Linked DNA regions of Homo sapiens: all the other regions are linked to region 4. The links are contacts of gene promoters, found by promoter capture Hi-C in blood cells and fetal thymus (Javierre and others, 2016). All regions are on one chromosome and are shown on one strand. The core of a region is centred on a gene start or on the middle of the fragment in contact, and the rest is flanking DNA. Distances in the headings are between cores, read along the strand shown.

Region 1 (2,759 bases), core at 73-2,572, 690 kb after region 4:
ACACCTCCATGCCTGGCTAATTTTTCTTTTCTTTTCTTTTCTTTTTCTTTTTTTTTTTTTTTTTTTGAGACAGGGCGTGCTCTGTCACTCAGGCTGGAGTGCAATGTCTTGATCTCGGCTCACTTGAACCTCTGCCTCCCGGGTTCAAGCGATTCTCCTGCCTCAGCCTCCCGAGTAGCTGTGATTACAGGCGCCTGACACCACCCCTGGCTAATTATTGTATTTTTAGTATAGATGGGGTTTCACCATGTTGGTCAGGCTGGTCTCGAACTCCTGACCTCGTGATCCGCCCACCTCGGCCTCCTAAATTGCTGGGATTACAGGCGTGAGCCACCATGCCCAGCCACGCCTGGCTAATTTTTGAATATTTTGCAGAGACAGGATCTCGCCATGTTGCCCAAGCTGGCAATAATTTAAAAACAAAACAACAGCTTTTCTACCCCATCCCACCCTGTCACAAGGAATGGAAAGGGGATGATTTCTGGCCTGGAGAAAGGCACTGAGTGAGGCAGACTGTAAGTCTGCCTGTGCCTGATGGGCATTCAGCTGTAAGCACTGTTTTAGGCTGCTTCAAGATCACCCTTTTAGCAGCTGCAGCTGTTCTTCATAGCAGCTGCTTGCGCGGATTGTGTTGTGATTAATAAAGGCAACTCAACAGTTTGTTCTTTCAACTGTGCCCTTGGTGTGCACAGCCTGCTTTTCACACAGTTTTGATTTGGAACAACACAATCCTACGGGCATATGGTGCCTGCGGGCTCATTACCCCGTTGTGAGAAAGATGGTCCACCTAGGTCAGAGCTGCGGAGCCCAAGGCCTCCCAGGGACTGGACGGTAAGGAAGATGAGTGTGGTGGGTGGCTCAGTAAATGCCGACTCCTCAGTATGAGTCAGGGATGCCAGGAAGGCAGGGTACATTGGTAAATGGAGATCACCTCTCATCCCTGTTTTCTGATGGGGCCACTGCCCTTCAACACCTGCCCGTTGTTCTTCCACTGCCGTGGTTCTGGAACTTCAGTGTGTATCAGTGTCCTGCTTGTTGAAACACAGATGGCCAGGCCCCACTTCCACAGTTTCTGACTCTGTAACTCTGGAATGGAGCCTGAGAATTTGCATTTCTGATGAGTTTCCAGGTGATGCAGCTGCTGCTGGTTGAGGGACCGCACTTTAAGAACCGCAGCCAAGGGCCCGGGGCCGAGGGTCTGGGCTGATAGAACTTTAGATGTTGTGGATTTTTATGAAAAATCTCCAGATTTTAAGTATTGAGAATAAATCAAATTTTAAAGAAACACCATGGGGTTTAAAACTGTAGGTCAAACAGAACACTGCCTATCAACTTATCGCCTCTGATCTGAATACTTTCAGGAAAGTTCTTTTGCAGCCTGCTCTGAAAACTGAGACCCAGAGAAGGGTGGCAGTTCATCCACAGCATACAGCTAGTTTGGGGCAGAATCGTGACTAGAACCCGGTGTCCTGCTGTGTGTTTGTCCTTGCATACTGTCTTCTGAATACATTTTCTCTTTGAATGGGAAAACGTTTGAAAATAATAATAACCACACTAAAATATTGCGAACCGTGTTCCAGGTGTGGTTTTAATTACTTTATGTATGTTAGCTAAATCAGTCCTAACACCAACACTATGAGGAAGGTACTTGTAATAGGCTGTTTTTGCATTGCTGTAAAGACATCCCTGAGACTGGTAATTTAAACCGAGGTTTAATTGGCTCACAGTTCTGCAGGTGGTATAGGAAGCATAGTGCTGGCATCTGCTCAGCCTCTGGTGAAGCCTCAGAGAGTTTCCAGTCATGATGGAAGTAAAATGGCAGCAGGCACTTCACATGGCGAATGCAGGAGCAAGCAAAAGTGGGGGAAAAGGTGCCCCCATACTTTTAAATGACCAGATCTCTCAACAGCTCAGAGTGAGAGCTTGCTTGTCACCAGGGGGATGGCCCAAGCCATTCATGGGGGATCTGCCCCATGATCCAGACACCTCCCACCAGGCCCGCCTCTAACTCTGGGGATTACATTTCAACATGAGATACCGGTTGTTGGGAGAGCAAATATCCAAACTCTATTAGTACTATTATCCTTATTTTACTGATGAGAAATCTGAAACACAGAGAGGTTAAGTAATTTGCCCAAAGTCACAGAGCTACTAATAAAGTGAGGATTTAACCCAAGAAGTCTAGCTTTAGGCAGAAATTGGCAAATAACTATGAACTTTTTTCAAGCCTTCATTTAAAAAAGCAAAATAAAACCTCTTACCATGCAAAGTACAAATCATGGACAGATTCTTATAATTTTAATGCTGCCAGGAAACTCGAAAATTAGGTGGCTTGACTTCCTCCCTCCTCCGTTTTATAGACATGGAAACTGAGGGCCAAAAAGAAAAGGGGACTTGATCATCCTGAATGCTGCCTTTACTTTTGGGCGGAATGGAGGTTATGTAAATGTTGGGTAATTAATGCTTTAAGAAAGATACTTGTACCTGAGACAGTTGGCTTCATAGCATTTGTGCTCCAGGGAGGATTCTGCTGACTTTGAAGACAGGGGAAGTCACTCCAAGAGGGCTGTGCTTCAAGGTAGGGAAAATTTCCCCTGTTACAAAGCCACCTTGTAGTTTGAAGTTCTCTTAATTGCTATTAGAGGAAGGATGCTAAATAAATAGCCTCATAGGCAAGGTGTATTTTTGGTCTGTCGTGTTTGCTTTGGTCTTTTGATTTGTTCTTCATCTCTTTCTCTCTGGTTTCTTTCCTCTAAAAA
Region 2 (2,700 bases), core at 160-2,659, 710 kb after region 4:
AGAATGTAAACAATAGTAATGAAGGAAATGCAGGAAAATGCAGTTTTACATCACCACGTCAACACTGGACCCTAACTTTGAAAGGTAGGGGAATGTCCCATCTGATATACGCCCATGCCAAGGGCTTCGGACATGGCTTTTCATGTGTGTGAATCTAACTGGTTTTGACTCATGTTCACCTACTTTGCTGTGACAAGGAGCCTCAGATGCTGAGAGTCAACCATAGAAACAGATCAAGCTTGAGAGGGTTGTGAGATTTGATCTAGATTTGATGGTTGCCTTCAGGCAGCAACACCACTATTAATAGAACTTATTTTTTTATTTTAAATTGACTAAAAGACTCCCCTGTTTCTGGCAGTGAGATGTCTCTAAAGGGGAATCAAGGAAGCCAGAATGAAGGTGATTTAAGCCTCAGATCAGGGAACTATTTAATAGTTATGTATCTTTGGAGCTAGAAACTAGCTTTCAGAGGGAGGTGACTCTCCTAGTATTACAGAGGCATTCCTGGGACTGGAATGCTGATCTTTTGGTCTACTGATCCCACCGAACTCTGTTGTCACAGAGATACAACTACAACTACTGGATCATGTTTCCAGATACCTTCTAATGGATCGTTTCCTTTTCCCCATTCTTTCAGATAATTGTCAAGGATTTATATTCCTGGCAATAAACAGAAAACCTAGTTATAAACTAAGCTAAAAGCCATGTTTAAAATTCCCTACGCTTCAGCCACTGTCAATAGCTGTCTTCCACACTACCATTTTTAACCTAAAATATAAATGTTTATGTATATGTTTTACTCTCATGCTATGCTACAAACTAGATCTTCTTTTCTTATGTTTTTCTTGTCAATAGATAATTTTTAAAAAGTTTTAAACATGACTCATACAAATATAAAATGAGTACATGGCAAAGATGTATTTAACTCGTTAATGAGGGAACCAGTAGGAAGCTAAAGTGGTTCAAAGAGCATTTGAGGAGCTGTGTAGTTAATAGGCCCTGAAGAATACCGGCACAAGATTGCTAGGTTAGATATGAAACTGGTCAGGCTGGGCACGGTGGCTTACACCTGTCGTCCCAGCACTTTGGGAGGCCGAGACGGGTGGATTACCTGAGATCAGGAGTTTGAGACCAGCCTGGCCTACATGGTGAAACCCCATCTCTACTAAAAATACAAAAATTAGCCGGGCGTGGTGGCTCATGCCTGTAATCCCAGCACTTTGGGAGGCTGAGGTGGGTGGATTACCTGAGGTCAGGAGTTCGAGACCAGCCTGGCCAACATGGCAAAGCCCCATCTCTACTAAAAATGCAAATTAGCTGGGTGTGGTGGTGGGCACCTGTAGTCCCAGCTACTCGGGAGGCTGAGGCAGGAGAGTCACTTGAACCTAGGAGGTGAAGGTTGCAGTGAGCCAAGATCGTGCCATTGCACTCCATCCTGGGTGACAAAAGTGAAACTCCGTCTCAAAGAAAAAAAAAGGAAACTGGTTGATGTCCTGTAGGGCAGTAAACCAATCACATCTGGGGATCTTAGTTCTACCAGGCAGAGAAATTATATACATCTAAAATGGATAAAAATCTCAGTTAACATGTAACTTCATAAAGTCTGAACCATAACCAATGGTAAACAGTCAGTGAAACACAGGTACATCATCTCCTAGAGAATCAGATGACCCTTGGGTGCACCTATGAGACAGTACACCAGTATGGCATTGAAAGGACATGCTGCCTTCCTTTTGCCTTATTTCCAAGTGTTGCATAGTGTTTTGTCTTATCCTTAGTGTCACTGCCTTTAGCAAAGGAGCATATACGTTCATTCATTTGGCCATTTTGTTTAATAATGTGCGGGGCGCAGTGGCTCATGCCTGTAATCCCAGCACTTTGGGAGGCCAAGTCAGGCAGATCACCTGAGGTCGGGAGTTCGAGACCAGCCTAACCAACATGGAGAAACCCCATCTCTACGAAAAATACAAAATTAGCAGGAGAATCGCTTGAACCCAGGAGGTGGAGGTTGCAGTGAGCCAAGATTGTGCCATTGCACTCTAGCCTGGGCATCAAGAGTGAAACTCCGTCTAAAAAAAAAAATTACTAAATGTCAGTTTTGTGCCAAGTCTTAGGTTAGGCATTAGACATACATAACTGAATGAGACAGACGACCCTTGCCCTCAAGGAGTTCAGAGGCTATTCCGTCCTATAAAGGAAGTAGCCAGGCAAGAGTTCCCTTTAGGAAATGTTCTTTTGTGGGATAAGCAAGAGGAATCATCCTTTTTGGTTCACAGTTCCTTTGGATCCCAATGTTTATAAGACTGGGATAAAATGCAAATATCACAGAGAATGACAACCAGAGTTCAATACTTTTGGGGACAAGAACAGATAAACATTGATGCCGCTTCGTTTTGCTCATGTGGCATTTATAGCTCCCTAGTGATACAATTTCACAGGAATTTTGTGTTAGCCATCTGACCTGATGGGCCCTCTTTGGCCAGTGCCGCCAGGTTTCTCCAGAAGCCTTCCTTTCTTGGCCTCCACAGGTACCGAATAGCTTATTTCTCTTGGTTTGGCCAGTTTGTGACATAAGCTTCTGCAGCTTCTGAGACAAACACCTGCCAGCGAGGGTGCTCTTTCCCCAGAAGGGTTGTGGTAACTGGTAGACAGCTCAAACTTCGTAGCGGTCAGTACAGTTTTCTTACAGCAAAGCTATAC
Region 3 (2,864 bases), core at 112-2,611, 720 kb before region 4:
CACAGCCCCCCTGGAGTGCGTGCCGCCTGATAGGTGGATCAAGAGCAGAACTCACATGCTGCCTCCTGGGGAGGAAGGGGGTTGTTTATGACCATATGAGCTTTGAGGTACCCAGGATGACAGGCCACCCTAGAACCCAGGGAGCTTGGGCAAGTTCATCCCCTTCTCTGGGCCTCAGTTTCCCTCATCTGTCCTGCAAAAGAATTGGATCAGATAATCTGGGACATTCTATCCAGCTCTCTGATCCAGAGATCAGGTTTGGGGCCGGGTGGGGGATGTGAAGTGGTCTTCCAAGCTGTCAACATAGCCTGATTGTGTAAGGCCTGCACAAATGGTGTTTAGAGCAATACTTTCAAACCTTAATGTTGGGTGAATCACCTGCGTCTAGAGAAAATGAAGATTCTAGCAGGAGAGAGTGGAAGAGTGGTTACCAGAGGCTGGGAGCAGGGTTGGATGGGGAAAGATTGGTCAACAAGTACAAAGTTGCAGCGAGGAGGAAGTTCTTGTGTTCTATGGCACAGCAAGGTGACTGTGGTTAACAGTACCGTATTGTACATTGCAAAGTAGGTAGAAAAGATTTACAATTTCTTTAGCAAAGATGAGATGATGGATAGGCTAAATACCTTGATTTGATTTTTACACAATGCATACATGTATCAAAACATCACATTGTACCCCAGAAATACGTACAATTATGGGTCAATAAAAAGCAAAATAAAATATGTAGATTCTCTCTCAATGGTTCTGAGGCGGGGTCTCTAAACCTGCATTTCTAACAAGCTCCCTGGTGATCCCGCGGTGCCGGCTGAGTCGGTGCCTTGATTAGGAGGGTTTGGCACTAGGTCTCCAGGTGTGATCCCGGAGCGGCAGCATCGGCATCACCTGGGAACCTTGTAAGAGCGAGTAGGGCCAAGCTACAGAAGTATTGGGTCAGAAACTCTGGGGTAGCGCCCAGCAATATGTGATGTAACAAGCCCTCCAGGCGACTCCCATGAGCTCAATTCTGAGAACCACTGCTTTAAGACAACAGCTTCTAAACTGGGCGGTGCATAGGAAGCACCGAGAGAGTTTTTAAAAATACTGGGGCCTGGGGCCCGCTTGTCGGGGTTCTAATGTAATCGGAATAGGTGCCTCCCGGGCATCGGGATTTTTACAGTCTCCCCAAGTGATTCTAATGTGAAGTCAATGAGCCTTAGGGCGGACAGAAGATGAGGGCTGCGGGGCTCCCAGGCTGCGAGCCTGCGATTCTTCTGACGGCGCTTTCCGGACGACGGCCACTAGGGCGCGCTGTGGCACCGCTGGGAGGCCGGCTGCGGTTCAGCCTCCTCTCGCCAGCGGCTGGAGGAGCTCCGGGCTGGGAGGCGGCGCGAAGCCCCGGGGGTCGGAGCCTCCGGGAGCGGCTTCTGGCCCAGGCCGGCCCGCCCCCGTGCATCGGCACCTAATTAATGCTGGCCGCGGCCTCGCCGCGCTTGACGTCAGTGATGTGCTCCGTGCTGGGGAGACGCGGCCTTTGCAGCCGCTCGGCACAGGTTGCTTCACCCTGGCCAGCCCTGCTGCCCGCCCCCTCCAGGCAGAACGCCGGGCTCACCTCTGGGACCGAGCCCTTGCTCATGCTGCTCTGATGACACTCACGCGAGAGTTTCTCCCCCATTTCCACCCGGCAGGACACCAGTTTCCTTTTCCATCTTCCCTGGCTGTTCTCTGCCCCTCCCCTGCCTTTTCAGAACACGGAGGGTCCCGGAAAATCCCACAGGCCTGGGGCTTTGCCAAGTCAGCCGCAAGAACCACCTCTCACCTTTCCCTTTCTGGGTCTCTCCTCTGCTCAGTTCCTTTCCTGTTCCTGCTCCTCCTTTTTCTCTCATCTGAGCCGTGTGGATCAGATACTTCCTGCCTATGCGTTCTCATGCACAGAAGTGGAAGAGATGGGATGGTGAAGGGGGGATTGCCTTCTTTAGCAGCACAGATAGGACTGCGTTTGTAAGGAGCGTTTTGTATGTTGGGGGTGACGAGGTTGCTGATGAAACTCTAGTGTTCTGTCCCCCACAGCCACATTACTCCCTTTAAGCAGCGATGGGAGTTGATTCTGGAGAGGAGAACTCAGCCGAGTAGAGCAACGCTGTCTTGTCTAGCTGCCCCAGCTGGCTGGAAGGGTCTTCCATGGCTGGAGGAGTTTCCCCAACCAGGACGCCAGAACTGTCTTTTTTTTTTTTTTTTTTTTTTTGAGACAGGGTCTTGCTCTGTCACCCAGGCTGGAAGTGCAGTGGCGTGACCGCAGCTCACTGCATCCTTGACCTCCCAGGCTCAAGCGATTGTCCCACCTCAGCCTCCTGAGAGGCTGGAATTACAGGCATGCGCCACCACGCCCAGCTAATTTTTTTTTATTTTTTGTAGAGACGGAGTCCCACTGTGTAGCCCAGGCTGGTCTCAAGCAATCCTCCTGCTTTGGCTTCCCAAAATGCTGGGATTACAGGTGTGAACCACCCCGTGCCTGGCCCAGAGCTGTCTTTATCATAAATGTTCCACGCCATATTTCATCTCTGCCCATCCCCTTATCCCCATTCCCAAACCTCCAATCTGATATTTGTGTGAGATTTCATTTGGAGGAAGGCCATGTACATAATGGTTTGGATGATGCCTGATAGCCTCCCTGGCTTTGCCAGCCCATAATTCTAAGATGGGAAGAGATGTTGCTGGGGAGAAGAGGCGGAGGCTTCTCTTCTGATTCCTGCCTGGAGCCCTGACTGCAAGGGTTGCTCCTGGCTTCCCCCATTTGAACCCCACCCCTGGCTGGCCAGTGAGGGGAGCATTCCCTACAGCCCCAGGGAGGGAGAGGCTGCCAGCGGCCAGACAGGGCATTGGGCAGA
Region 4 (2,700 bases), core at 175-2,674:
TGGATCACATGAGGTCAGGAGTTCGAGACCAGCCTGGCCAAAATGGTGAAACCCCCTCTCTACTAAAAATACAAAAATTAGCTAGGCGTGCTGGCGCGTGCCTGTAATTCCAGCTACTCCGGAGGCGGAGACAGGAGAATTGCTTGAACCTGGGAGGCGGAGGTTGCAGTGAGCCGAGATAGCGCTACTGCACTCCAGCCTGGACGACAGAGCAAGACTCCGTCTCAAAACAAAACAAAAACAAACTAACGAATGCATTCCATTCCTTATAAACACGATAAATTATCTATACCACTTAAAAAGGTCTGGAAAAAATTCAAAACAACTGCTTAGAAGTTAATTCAGGAAAACCACGTTTTTCCAATTTTGCTTGATGCATCTTACTTCCTATCAAATGCCTGCAACAATGAGCTAAGCTTGAAGGTATCTAATGATACTAGAACAAAATTTCCTATAAAATCCAATTTAATCTCATTACAATGCATATAGTAACGCACAGAAATGAAAAGATTTCTATGATTTTCTATTTAGAATTAAACCACCCCAGGGCAACAATGATTGAGATTAGAAAGGTGGTGCCACGTTCACGACCTTGCATCAAAAAGTAAGTCTCCCTCCCGAAACACAGAAAAAAGCTGCTATTGAAAGGGCATCTCGAATCACCGTCTCTGACACCGTGTGCGTCATTGCTCTAGTTCTGACTTCTATCAGCGGGCTAGGGAAAGAGACGGACGCCCCTTTCCCCGATAGAAGAGCCCAGGTACCTGAAGATGCAATGTACACATGGCGTGGAAATGGAAGAAAAAGAAGACACCGAGAGTTAGGAGAAATGTGGAGAGAGGTGACTCATGGACAGAGCCAAACCTGGCAGGGAGAGGACAGAAAAAAGGCAAAAGAGGCAACCAGAGACAGACAGAACACTGAAGACACAAGGGTGTAAAGGGCAGAGACAAAAGGACAATAGAGACGGGCCAAGATTGAGAGGCGTCCAGAATTTTCGGGTTGGGTAGGGCCAGAGAAAAGGGCCAGTATTGAAGCCGGCTCCGAACGTAAGCCCAGCCAGGGCTCCTGTCATTCTGGGTCCTCAAGAACATCTGGGAATTCTCCAACTGCCGTCGGCCTGGCCTGAGAGTCACCTGCACATTTTTGGAGATAGAGATAAGACAGCCCCACTCTCAAGAGGCCCCAGAATTAACGGGGCCAGATTAGAGCCTGCACTTACCAGGCCACAGCGGCCCGACGTAGTCGCCACATCCCGCCGGCGGGGAGGTCACGCAGGCGCCGAGACGGCCACGCGGGAGCCCCCGTGTGAGCCCCAGCCCGGCTCCCGGTCCAGGAATGACCCAGGAAGTGGCCCTCAGCAGCAAGGGCACAGAGCCGCGGCCGAGGCCCTCCCAATGGCGCATGGACTTCCGCAAGAGCCTGACAGGCACCCGTACTCAGTCCGTCACGGAAACAACCACTTCACCCTTTCTAGGCGGGCAGCACGAACGGTCCGCGGAGGACCAGCGCATGCGCACAGTGCGTCGGGAACGGACTGGAGCAATCCATCGCCTCTCACGGGGCCCCGCCCTCTTGCTTCCGATTTGGAATTCGGAATTAGCCTTGCAGGTTAGAGATTTGGCCAGGGGAGGGAGCGAGAGTTGGGCGGGAACGGGAAGGGCTAAAGGCGTGGAATGAGAATTGATGAATGCTCACCGGGAGCCATGAATTTATTAAGAGTTGGATATTGAGGGAGCACGAAGGAAACTAGAGAGTGCAAGGTGAAATACAGTAATAGCGTACTACAAACTAATGCTTGCACATTTGCCTACCTTCTTTCTTGGGCATCTTTGTTTGAAAGCACTTTCACATCGTTAGGGCAATCATGGGAGGTGAGAAGCAGGACGAAGAGTCATGGATAGGCTAAGTCCCTTAGAATCTCTGAGGATCAGATGGGAAAGGGACTTAAATCAGTTAGGCCAGTAACGGGTTTGGAATAAGCTTGTGTGGTTTATAAAAGGCGTCAAAATGATTTGTTCAACTGTTTCTTCCGGATTTTAAGCCCACCAGTTTGTTGAAATGGTCCTCGTCAAGGCCTCCACCAGCTCCCTATTGTTTGTGGCCAGTGAGCCTGCCACAGCATTCAGTTCAGATGCCTAGTGCTGAGCACTCCTTCAACTACTTTTTCTTTTGGCTCTCTGGCCATCACATTCTCCTTTTTCCCTGGAACTGCTGCTCCCAGGCTTCTTTGATGGCTCCCCTCCCAAATTTCTCAATGTTGGACAGGCCCAGATCTCAGCCATCTTGAGCTCCTCTCCTCCATCACTTTAAATACTCCTTTCCCCTTCCAACACAAACCTTTTATGTTTTGTAAGGAAACCAGGGCCCGTAAAAGGGATGTGGCCTGTGAACGGTTATGAAGCCAATTTTTAGGGACTAAAATAAAAGGGTCCTGTGCATCCTCTTTACTTCAGGGACCTTTCACCTCCTCCCCACTACCCGCCCCCCACCCATGCCACACACATACACAAATACACAGAGCATAAAGACAATTCCTTTTCCCTTAATTGTCAGAATCATAAGTCTGGACCCATGCACTCACAATACCACCAAGAGTAGACCTAGCCATTGATAGTAAACTTCCCAAATGCAGGACTCTTAGAATTTTCTTTATTTATTGTGGTGACTGTTTCAATGGCAGGTCCAGAGAGCAATTTG
Region 5 (2,916 bases), core at 71-2,570, 730 kb after region 4:
AGCCTTAGAGATGAACAATTAGCTTGAAATAATGATATTTAAGAAGAAAAATCTGTTGGTACACAAGGGTCAGTGGCTCTAGTCTCAGTTTCTGATGAGTTCATTTCATCATTACCCTTGGAATCAGAAACTTCTTTTTTTTTTATTTATTTATTTTTTTAGACAGGATCTTCCTCTGCTGCCCAGGCCAGAGTACAGTGGTACAATCATGGCTCACTGCAGCCTCAACAACCTCCCCGGCCCCAGCAATCCTCCCGCCTCAGCTTCCAGAGTGGCTGGTACTACAGGCATAAGCCACCACACCCAGCTAATTTTTTATTTTTTGTAGAGACAGAGTCTTACTATGTTGCCTAGGCTGTTCTCAAACTCCTGGGCTCCAGCAATCCTCCTGCCTTCACCTCCCAAAGTGCTGAGATTACAGGCAGGGATCAGCAACTTCTTAAAGGTGGCTGATAAAGACAATCATATGTTGAACACAGAAGAATGGTGAGGATGGGGTGGGGGTTGGGGAAGATTGGGAGGGGGCCTGGTAGACCAAATCTGCTTCTCTAAGCTTCATCACAGCCACAGGCATCTTACAGCTTCAATTCTCACTTTATCCTTAACTCTTTTCTTAGGACTCCCAAATTCAGAATGCAGAGGTGTGGTTAATTTGATCATGTTTCTGAAATGTCTCTTACTTGTAAGATGAAGCAAATCAGTACTTGCTCTTCTTGCCCTTCCAGTGGAATGTTAATGCATGTACTTTGAATTTCTACATACTCCTGCTGAACCATTTCTCCAATATACAATCCCACAAGCCCTTCTACATGCTTCCTATGAAAATCAAGCAAAACTATGAAAGGTGACAGCATCCTGGGAGCAGGAGACTGAGGGCTAATCTTGGGTCATCTTCTACCTTGCAGTTCACCTACCTCTGAGCCTCCTTCCAGCCTCATTCATGCTGATCAGCTCCCTGGGTTGCTGTAAGAATAAAGCTCAGGGACACATGAGAGTGTTCTGGAAGGGTGGAAAGCTCCACATGCAGGAGGTTACATAATTATGTTCTAAGATTGTTCACAGCTGTCAAGCGCGACACACTGACATCCTCATGCTCCTCCACCGTTGAGAAGCAGCTGTTACTTTCATTTCAGCCTCTCCCTTCTCTGTAGGCCAGATTGAGGAGAAATGAATGAATTAAAAATCTGTTGGGGGTGAGGGAAAACCATCTGAGATGTCTTCTGTCTGGTTTTTCATCTGTGAGTATTTTAATATTCCCATTGAAACTGCAAGGTGGGTATATAAGCAGTGTAGGAGGAGGAATGTGGAACTGGAGTCACTCTAAAAATGAAATAGTAGAAATAACAGTGCTCTGGGTGAGAGGGCAGTCACTGAATATGACTCTTAAAAATTGGAGTTGGGATCAGGCATGGTGGCTCACACCTGTAACCCCAGCACTTTGGGAGGCTGAGGCGGGCAGATCACCTGAGCTTAGGAGTCCGAGACCAGCCTGGCCAACATGGCGAAACACCATCTCTACTAAAAGTACAAAAATTAACCAGGCGTGGTGGCGGGTGTCTGTAATCCCAGCTACTTGGGAGGCCAAGGCAGGAGAATCGCTTGAACCCAGGAGGCCGAGGTTGCAGTGAGCCAAGATTGTGCCATTGCACTTCAGCCAGGATGACAAGAGCAAAACTCTGTCAAAAAACAACAACAACAAAAAGCACGGTGGTTCACACTTGTAATTCCAGTTCTTTAGGAGGGCAAGGGAGAAGGATTGCATGAGGCCAGGAGCTCAAGAGCAGCCTGGACAGCACAGCAAGACCCCATTTCTGCAATAACAGTAATGATGATAACATTAAAAAGAGGACTGTCTGAGCACCTGCGGGGTTTCCTGGACCAGTTCACACACAAACTGGGGTACTTCAGCACAGCTCTTGAGGTTTATTTCTTGTCCTTCCCTCCTTATTCCCCACATTTATCTGTATCTGGAAGAGTTAGGCCAAGGCCTTTTGACATGCCTAGAAAGTACTTCCCTACCTTGCTCACCTGGAGCACACCTACTTTTTAAAGATCTAGCACAAATGTAAACTTTACAGAAAGCTTTCCCTGATACCCACTGCCACAGAGGATTATTCTTCACTTTTTCATACCTCTGTGTTTGTAAATGCCTCTGTCACAGCATCCACTACTGATGTAAAGACATCTGTCACATTATGTTTTTACATTTTCTTGGTGGGGAGTGTCTTAGTCCATTCAGGTTGCTGTAACAAAATATCATAGACTGGGTGGGTTATAAACCACAGAAATTAATTTCTCACAGTTCTGGCTTCTGGAAAGGTTAAGATCAAGGCTCTGGCAGGTTTGGTGTCTGGCGAAGCTCCCTTTCCTGGTTCACAGACAGCTGTTGTTTCACTGTGTCCTCACCTGATGGAAGGAGAAAGGGAGCTCTGAAGTCTCAAGTGCAGAAATCCCATTCATGAGGGCTCTGCTCTTACGACCTGGCCTCTTCCTGGAGGCTCCATCTCCCAATAATCATCACCTTGGGGATTAGGATTTCAATGTGAATTTTGGGGGGACACAAACAGACTGTAGTAGACAGTGAGCTCTTTGAGGACAGGAATCATGTCTTCTTCGTCCTTGTCTTCATAGGGCACTGCAGAAGTTTTGTCACATATTAAGTACTCAGTAAATATTTAATAAGTGTATGAATGAGTTAAAAAGAAAAAAAACTAAACTTACACCATGTGCTAACGTTCCTTTTGATTCAAGAATTAATGTTAGTGCCCCATCACAATTCCCACTTGGAAAACAACCGTTAGTCCCGTAGATATAGACAGAATGTCACCGAGTTGGGTGTTTGTGTATGCGTTAGTTTCCTAGGGCTGCTGTAACAAATCACCACAAATTGGGTGGCCCAAAACAGATGTGTTCCCT
Region 6 (2,700 bases), core at 30-2,529, 700 kb before region 4:
GATATGCTGTTTGCAAATATTTTCTCCCAGTGTATAACTTGTCTTTTCTTCCTCTTAAGAGGGGCTTTTATAGAGCAAAAGTTTGTAGTGTTGATAAAGTCCAATTTATCACTTAAAAGTTTTTTTCTGTCTTTTTTTTTTTTTTGCTTTTGGTCTATGAACTCTTCACTAAACCACAGGTCCTGAAGATTTGTCCTTATGTTATCTTCTGAAAGTTTTATAGTTTTATGTTTTACATTTAAATCTATGGTCCATTTTTAATTAATTTTTGTAACAGGTATGATTTTGGGGTTGAGGTTCCTTTCTTTTTCTTTCTTCTTATTTGCCCAAGAATATCTATTTGCTCCAGTACTGTTTCTTAAAAAGGCTATCCCTTCTCCATTGAATTGCTTTTGCACCTTTGTCAAAAATGAGTTGGCCCTACTTGTGTGGGGCTCATACCTAGAATATCTAGGACCCATTTCTGGGTTCTCTATTCTGTTTCATTGATCTTTGTATCTATTCCTCATGCTGACTTGGTTACTGATGCTATCTAATCAGTCTTAAAATCAGGTAATATGACTTTTCCCAAATTATTTTCCCCAAACTGTTTTACTTATTCAACTCCCTTTGCTTTTTCATATACATTTAGAATAAGCTTGTTGTCTACATCTACAGAAATCTTGCTGAGATTTTGATTGGAATTGTGTTGCACCTGTATATCAGTTTGGGGAAATTTGACATCATTACTATTTTGACTCTTCCTATCCATGACTATCATATGTCAACCATTTACTTAGATTTTTCTTTGATTTCTTTCATTAGCATTTTGATGTTTTCAACACATAAGTGCTGGACATCTTTAGTTATATTTACACCTAAATATTTCATTTTCTTGATTATATGTTATATTAACACCTGAATATTTCATTTTCTTGATTATACATTATATTTTATATTTGTTGTCCATGTATTCATTGCTAGTATATTAAAATAGATGTGATTTGCCTATGTTTGTTGATACGGTTTGGATCTATTTCCCTGCCCAAGTCTCATGTTGAAATGTAATCCCCAGTGCTGCAGGTGGGGCCTGGTAGGAGGTGTTTGGATCATGGGGCTGGCTTCTCATTAATGGTTTGGCACCATCCCCGTTGGTGTTGCCATCGTGATAGTGAGTTGTGAGACCTGGTTGTTTAAAAGGAATGTTATATTTCTTAATAAATCAAAGAATGGAGTGATTTCATGATTAGAAAGGACATGTTGGGCCTGACACAGAGTAAGCCCTAAATGAATGCTCAGGGATGATGAATCTTCTCCCCAGTATCCCACTTTGCTAGATTACCCTTAGTGATAGATTGTTCACTCTCTCTTAAATTCTGGGCATTTGAAATATTTTCCTCTCATGTGCTCAAAACACTTTCATTTCAGCTTCCACTCTGCAGTCCCAGTGTCTGTCCCTAGGGCTACACAGAATGAGCCCGATTCCCCTTCCCTACGAATATCCCTGAACTCTCAAATAGGGGAAGCAGCCTCAGCTTCCCCAGCCAGTGTTTGTAAGAGTGAGATTTCTAGTCCTCTCATGATCCTAGTCTCTTTCCCTTGAGCAGAATTCTGTACCTGCACAGTTCTCTCCAGATGTGATGTCCAGAAAGGTCTCAGCACCCTGGGTGGAGCCTGGGGGACCCCCTTCTTTCCGGTAGGCAGCTTAAGCTCCCATTGGCTCTTCCGGCAGCCAGGTTGCAAAGGCTTATATTAAGCTGGTGGCTGGTGAGCACCCCTGGGCCCTTTTTATCTTTCCCTACATAAATCTGCACACCAGCTTTCTGCAGGTGGCTTCCCATAGCTGCCTTCTAAGGGGAGCTACATCAAACCTCAAGGAATTTACCACCATGAAAGCCTGTCTTGCCCCGAGACCTTCCTCACCTGCAAAGCATAAGCTTGGGCAGGGCTTGGAACCACATGCCCTAAGGCCCTTAAATCTGCCTGTATCTCTGCTCTATAATTTTCAGAAAAATTAACTGCATTATGGGATGGCTTATATTCAAGTCAGGGTCCATACAGCCAGCAGAGGGCAAAAATGGTGAATGCCGTATGGAATCTTATGGCTTGCAAAACAGTTTCTATATCACCTCCTTGGATCCACAGAATAACTAGTAAACTGTGTGAGGCAGGTAGGGAGGGTGGATCATTTCTATTTGACAGGTAAGGAAAGAGAGGTTGCAGGGAGGCTGCAGGCTGCTACGACTAAAAACAAAGAAGAGTCAAAAGTGACAGAACACCACACTCTGTTTATCACAAAACACTGCTTAGCATCTCAGGGCTCTAGGCTTCTATTTGAATTGTCTCAACCATCCTCTGGGTAGAAAGTTTTTTTCTCAGGGCATTTTTGGATCCAGATGATCTGAGCTAATCCCCCTGTCCCCTCACCCCCAGCCCCAAGGAGTGGGCTAGGAGTACAGCTGTGCATTTTAACGAGGGAGACGGGAGTCTCCAGGCTGCTTTCCAAGAAATTGCTTCTAAAATCATTTGCCTCCAGCCCCAGACAAAAGCTCAGGTATGGAAGCTTGGCTGCTCCTGACCTTTTACATCCCCAGAACCAAGCTGCAGGGAGGAGGGGACGGCCGCACAAAAGGGTCTGGGGAGTGACCCGGCCTGCCTCAGCTACCTGCTGTTTGCCACAATGGGACCCGAGTCCCGGGCTGCCTCTGGAGGCAGGAGAAA
Region 7 (2,869 bases), core at 280-2,779, 670 kb before region 4:
AGTATCGGACTCCCAGGCTTGTTCGTTCATTCATTCACTTAGCAAATATTTATTTAGCACCGACTAGGCATTGGGGTCACAGCAGCTGGGGAATGGGGAACAGACAAAATCCCTGCCCTCATGACATTTACATCCTGTTGGTCCACTCATGGCCTTGACCTCATGGTCCAAGATGACAACATCTCTTCATTCTAGTCAGCAGGATGGAGGAAGGAATGAAGAAGAAGAAGGCAAGGGGTGAACTGACATAATCTCTTAAGGAAGGTTCTTGGAAGCTGCACAACTCTCTCCCTCCGTTTCATGCAGTGATTAGTCACACAGCTTATTAGGCTGTTCTTGCATTGCTGTAAAGAAATACACAAGACTGGGTTTATAATAAGGAAAGAGGTTGAGCTGGCTCATGGTTCTGCAGGCTATACAAGAAGTATAGTAGCATCTGCTTTTGGAGGGGCCTCAGGAACCTTACAGTCATGGCAGAAGGCAGAGCTGGAGCAGGCACTTCACATGGAGAAAACAGGAGCAAGAGAGAGAGAGTGGGCGGGGTGAGGGGGAGCACATGATTTTAAATGACCAGATCTCGTGAGAACTCGCTATCACGGAGACAGCACCAAAAGCCATGAGGGATCTGCCCCCGTGGTCCAAACACATTCCACCAGGCCTCATTTCCAGCAATGGGGATTACAATTCAACAGGAGATTTGGGCTGGGGTAAATGTCCAAACTATATCACATGGTCTCACCTAGCTGGAAGGGAAGCTGGGGAATATAGTCTTTATTCCATGTGGCTACCATTTGCCCAGCTGGAAATCTGTTATTAAGGAAAAAGGGGAGTTGAATAATTGAGAGAGGGGTGCTACCAGTCTCTTTCACAAATAAAATTTGTAATTTTAAAAATAATACATTTTATGTAATCTAATGTGCCCAGAATATTTTTATTATTATTATTGAGGCAGAGTCTTGCTCTCTTGCCCAGGCTTGAGTGCAGTGGCACGATCTCAGCTCACTGCAATCTCCACCTCCTGGGTTCAAGTGATTCTCGTGCCTCAGCCACCCGAGTAGCTGACATTACAAGTGTGCACCACCATGCCCAGCTAATTTTTGTGTTTTTAGTAGAGACACGGTTTTGCCATGTTGGCCAGGCTGGTCTCTAACTCCTGGTCTCAAGTGATCTGCCTGCTTCAGCCACCCAAAGTTCTGGGATTACAGGCGTGAGTCACCACGCCCAGGGCAGAATATTATTATGCCAATGTCCAACTAATATAAAAATTATTTCATGTTCTTTTTTTTTACTAAGTCTTTGAAAACTATGATATATTTTACACTGACATCACTTATATTCTCTCATTCATTCACCTACATTACATCCCTATTCAGACTAGCCACATTGCAAGTGCTCAGTGGTCATATTAGACAGTGTTCTGGAGCCTGGCAGCTTGCAGTGTGGTCCATGGGCCAGCAGCATCAGCATCGATGGGGAGCTTGTCAGAGGTTCAAGACTCCAAGGCCCCACCCCAGACCTCCTAAGTTAGAATCTGTATTTTAACAAGATCTCCACGTTATTTGTGTGCACATTAAAGTATGAGCTGCACTGTTCTATAATAATTCTTCAGATAGGATTTCCAGTAGAATCTAACAAAAGAGTCTAGAGAAAAGAGAAACTACCTCAATGAACTCTCTGGAATCAAGCATAGAAACTTGTCAGATCCCATTTTTCCTTTTTCTGATCCCATTAGACTGCTAATTAGACCTTCGGAGAAGGGGTGATTTTAAAGTAGTTACATTCAAATGAATCAATTTAATAATAGGGAAAAATTTAAAAACCCAAACAACATAGAATTGTTGGACTGTGAGTGGATTTAATTTTCAAGGCTAACCTCCAATGCCATGAGCAGAGCTTTAAAATATATTGGATTTCTCTTAAACTTCTTCCCCGTTTTTTTAACAGCTTTATTCAGATACAATTCATATACCATACAATTCACCAATTTCAATTGTATAATTCAAGGGTTTTTCATATATTCACAGAGTTGTACAGCCATCACTGCAATCAATTTTTGAACATTTTCATCACTTCCAAAAGAAATCCTGTACTCATTGAGAGTCACTCCTCATCTCTTCCTAGCCCTAGGCAGCCACTAATGTACTTTCTGTCACTACAAATCTGCCTATTCTGAGCATTTCATATCAATGAAATCATACCACATATGGTCTTTGGAGACTGGCTTCTTTCACTTAGCCTAGTGTTTTTAAGGTTCATCCATGTTGTAGCATGCATCAGTACTTCATTCCTTTTCATGGCTGTATAATATTCCATGATATGGATATACCACATTTTGATTATCCATTCATAAACATATAAAGTTTTAATACAGAAACCAGAGAAGAAGGGAACAAAACAGTAAGGAGGAATCAAGGAAATAATAGCTCCTACTGGATTCAGACTCACAGAGAGTCAGAGCTGAAAAGAACCTTAAAACTCATACAGTGCATTGTTGTCCATGTGGAGAACTGAGACCCAGCAAATGAAAACCCTTTGTCCAGGGCCCTCCAACATCAGGAGGCCCAGCTGGGATGAGGATCCAAACTGCTTTGACTCCAACTCCTCTGCTGTACTCTGCCACCACAGACACCCAGGGTCTCAGCCTGCACCTCAAGGTAGTCATGGGAACAGTAGTCCTGGCAGCATCAGGGCGAGGCATAGCTCTTCATCTTAGTCTTGGTCTCAATTTTAGAAAACCATGTGGAGTTGAGAACCCCAGGGTGGATCTGGAGTTAGTTTTGGAGAGCTGTTTTCAAGATCTGTAGTAAAATGTCTGATATTCTGAGCCTCTTTCCATGTCACATGCAGATATATCTCTTTTTTTCTTTGA

What was found. Contacts are between HindIII fragments. The CHiCAGO score rates a contact against its expected background, and 5 or more counts as called.
Region 1: a contact is called between a fragment that was not itself captured here and the fragment with the promoter of OPA1 in region 4, in 4 of 17 cell types (M0 macrophages, M1 macrophages, M2 macrophages and 1 more). The highest score is 11.9, in M0 macrophages.
Region 2: a fragment that was not itself captured here is called in contact with the fragment with the promoter of OPA1 in region 4 in 5 of 17 cell types (M0 macrophages, endothelial precursors, M1 macrophages and 2 more); the score reaches 12.2 in M0 macrophages.
Region 3: a fragment that was not itself captured here is called in contact with the fragment with the promoter of OPA1 in region 4 in 9 of 17 cell types (fetal thymus, activated CD4 T cells, total B cells and 6 more); the score reaches 11.8 in fetal thymus.
Region 5: a fragment that was not itself captured here is called in contact with the fragment with the promoter of OPA1 in region 4 in 4 of 17 cell types (M0 macrophages, M1 macrophages, M2 macrophages and 1 more); the score reaches 16.0 in M0 macrophages.
Region 6: a fragment that was not itself captured here is called in contact with the fragment with the promoter of OPA1 in region 4 in 1 of 17 cell types (fetal thymus); the score reaches 5.0 in fetal thymus.
Region 7: a contact is called between a fragment that was not itself captured here and the fragment with the promoter of OPA1 in region 4, in 1 of 17 cell types (erythroblasts). The highest score is 6.9, in erythroblasts.

Annotation. Positions count from the first base shown.
Region 1 is chr3:192,902,943-192,905,701 of GRCh38, reverse strand. All of the region lies in intron 1 of MB21D2 (Mab-21 domain containing 2), which reads left to right. Among named protein-coding and RNA genes, the nearest start is that of MB21D2, 14 kb to the left of the region's middle. The HindIII fragment of the contact is 7,645 bases long and covers 1-2,759 here.
Region 2 is chr3:192,881,515-192,884,214 of GRCh38, reverse strand. The region is part of intron 1 of MB21D2 (Mab-21 domain containing 2); the gene reads left to right. Among named protein-coding and RNA genes, the nearest start is that of MB21D2, 35 kb to the left of the region's middle. The HindIII fragment of the contact is 2,337 bases long and covers 241-2,577 here.
Region 3 is chr3:194,314,263-194,317,126 of GRCh38, reverse strand. No RefSeq gene overlaps it. Among named protein-coding and RNA genes, the nearest start is that of LINC00887, 2.9 kb to the right of the region's middle. RefSeq lists enhancers at 1,154-1,203, 1,069-1,569 and a silencer at 1,274-1,613. The HindIII fragment of the contact is 3,891 bases long and covers 1-2,864 here.
Region 4 is chr3:193,591,932-193,594,631 of GRCh38, reverse strand. It overlaps OPA1 (OPA1 mitochondrial dynamin like GTPase), which reads right to left and starts at 1,424. Exons shown (of 31, transcript NM_130837.3): 1 at 1,223-1,424. The coding sequence starts at 1,254. It also overlaps a transcript of ATP13A4 not described here. RefSeq lists enhancers at 866-945, 459-1,110, 1,546-1,595, 1,646-1,715, 1,111-1,762 and a silencer at 1,176-1,325. The HindIII fragment of the contact is 1,567 bases long and covers 419-1,985 here.
Region 5 is chr3:192,863,291-192,866,206 of GRCh38, reverse strand. All of the region lies in intron 1 of MB21D2 (Mab-21 domain containing 2), which reads left to right. Among named protein-coding and RNA genes, the nearest start is that of MB21D2, 53 kb to the left of the region's middle. The HindIII fragment of the contact is 1,529 bases long and covers 556-2,084 here.
Region 6 is chr3:194,286,921-194,289,620 of GRCh38, reverse strand. No RefSeq gene overlaps it. Among named protein-coding and RNA genes, the nearest start is that of LINC02048, 12 kb to the right of the region's middle. The HindIII fragment of the contact is 1,279 bases long and covers 640-1,918 here.
Region 7 is chr3:194,257,870-194,260,738 of GRCh38, reverse strand. No RefSeq gene overlaps it. Among named protein-coding and RNA genes, the nearest start is that of LINC02036, 9.2 kb to the right of the region's middle. The HindIII fragment of the contact is 5,890 bases long and covers 1-2,869 here.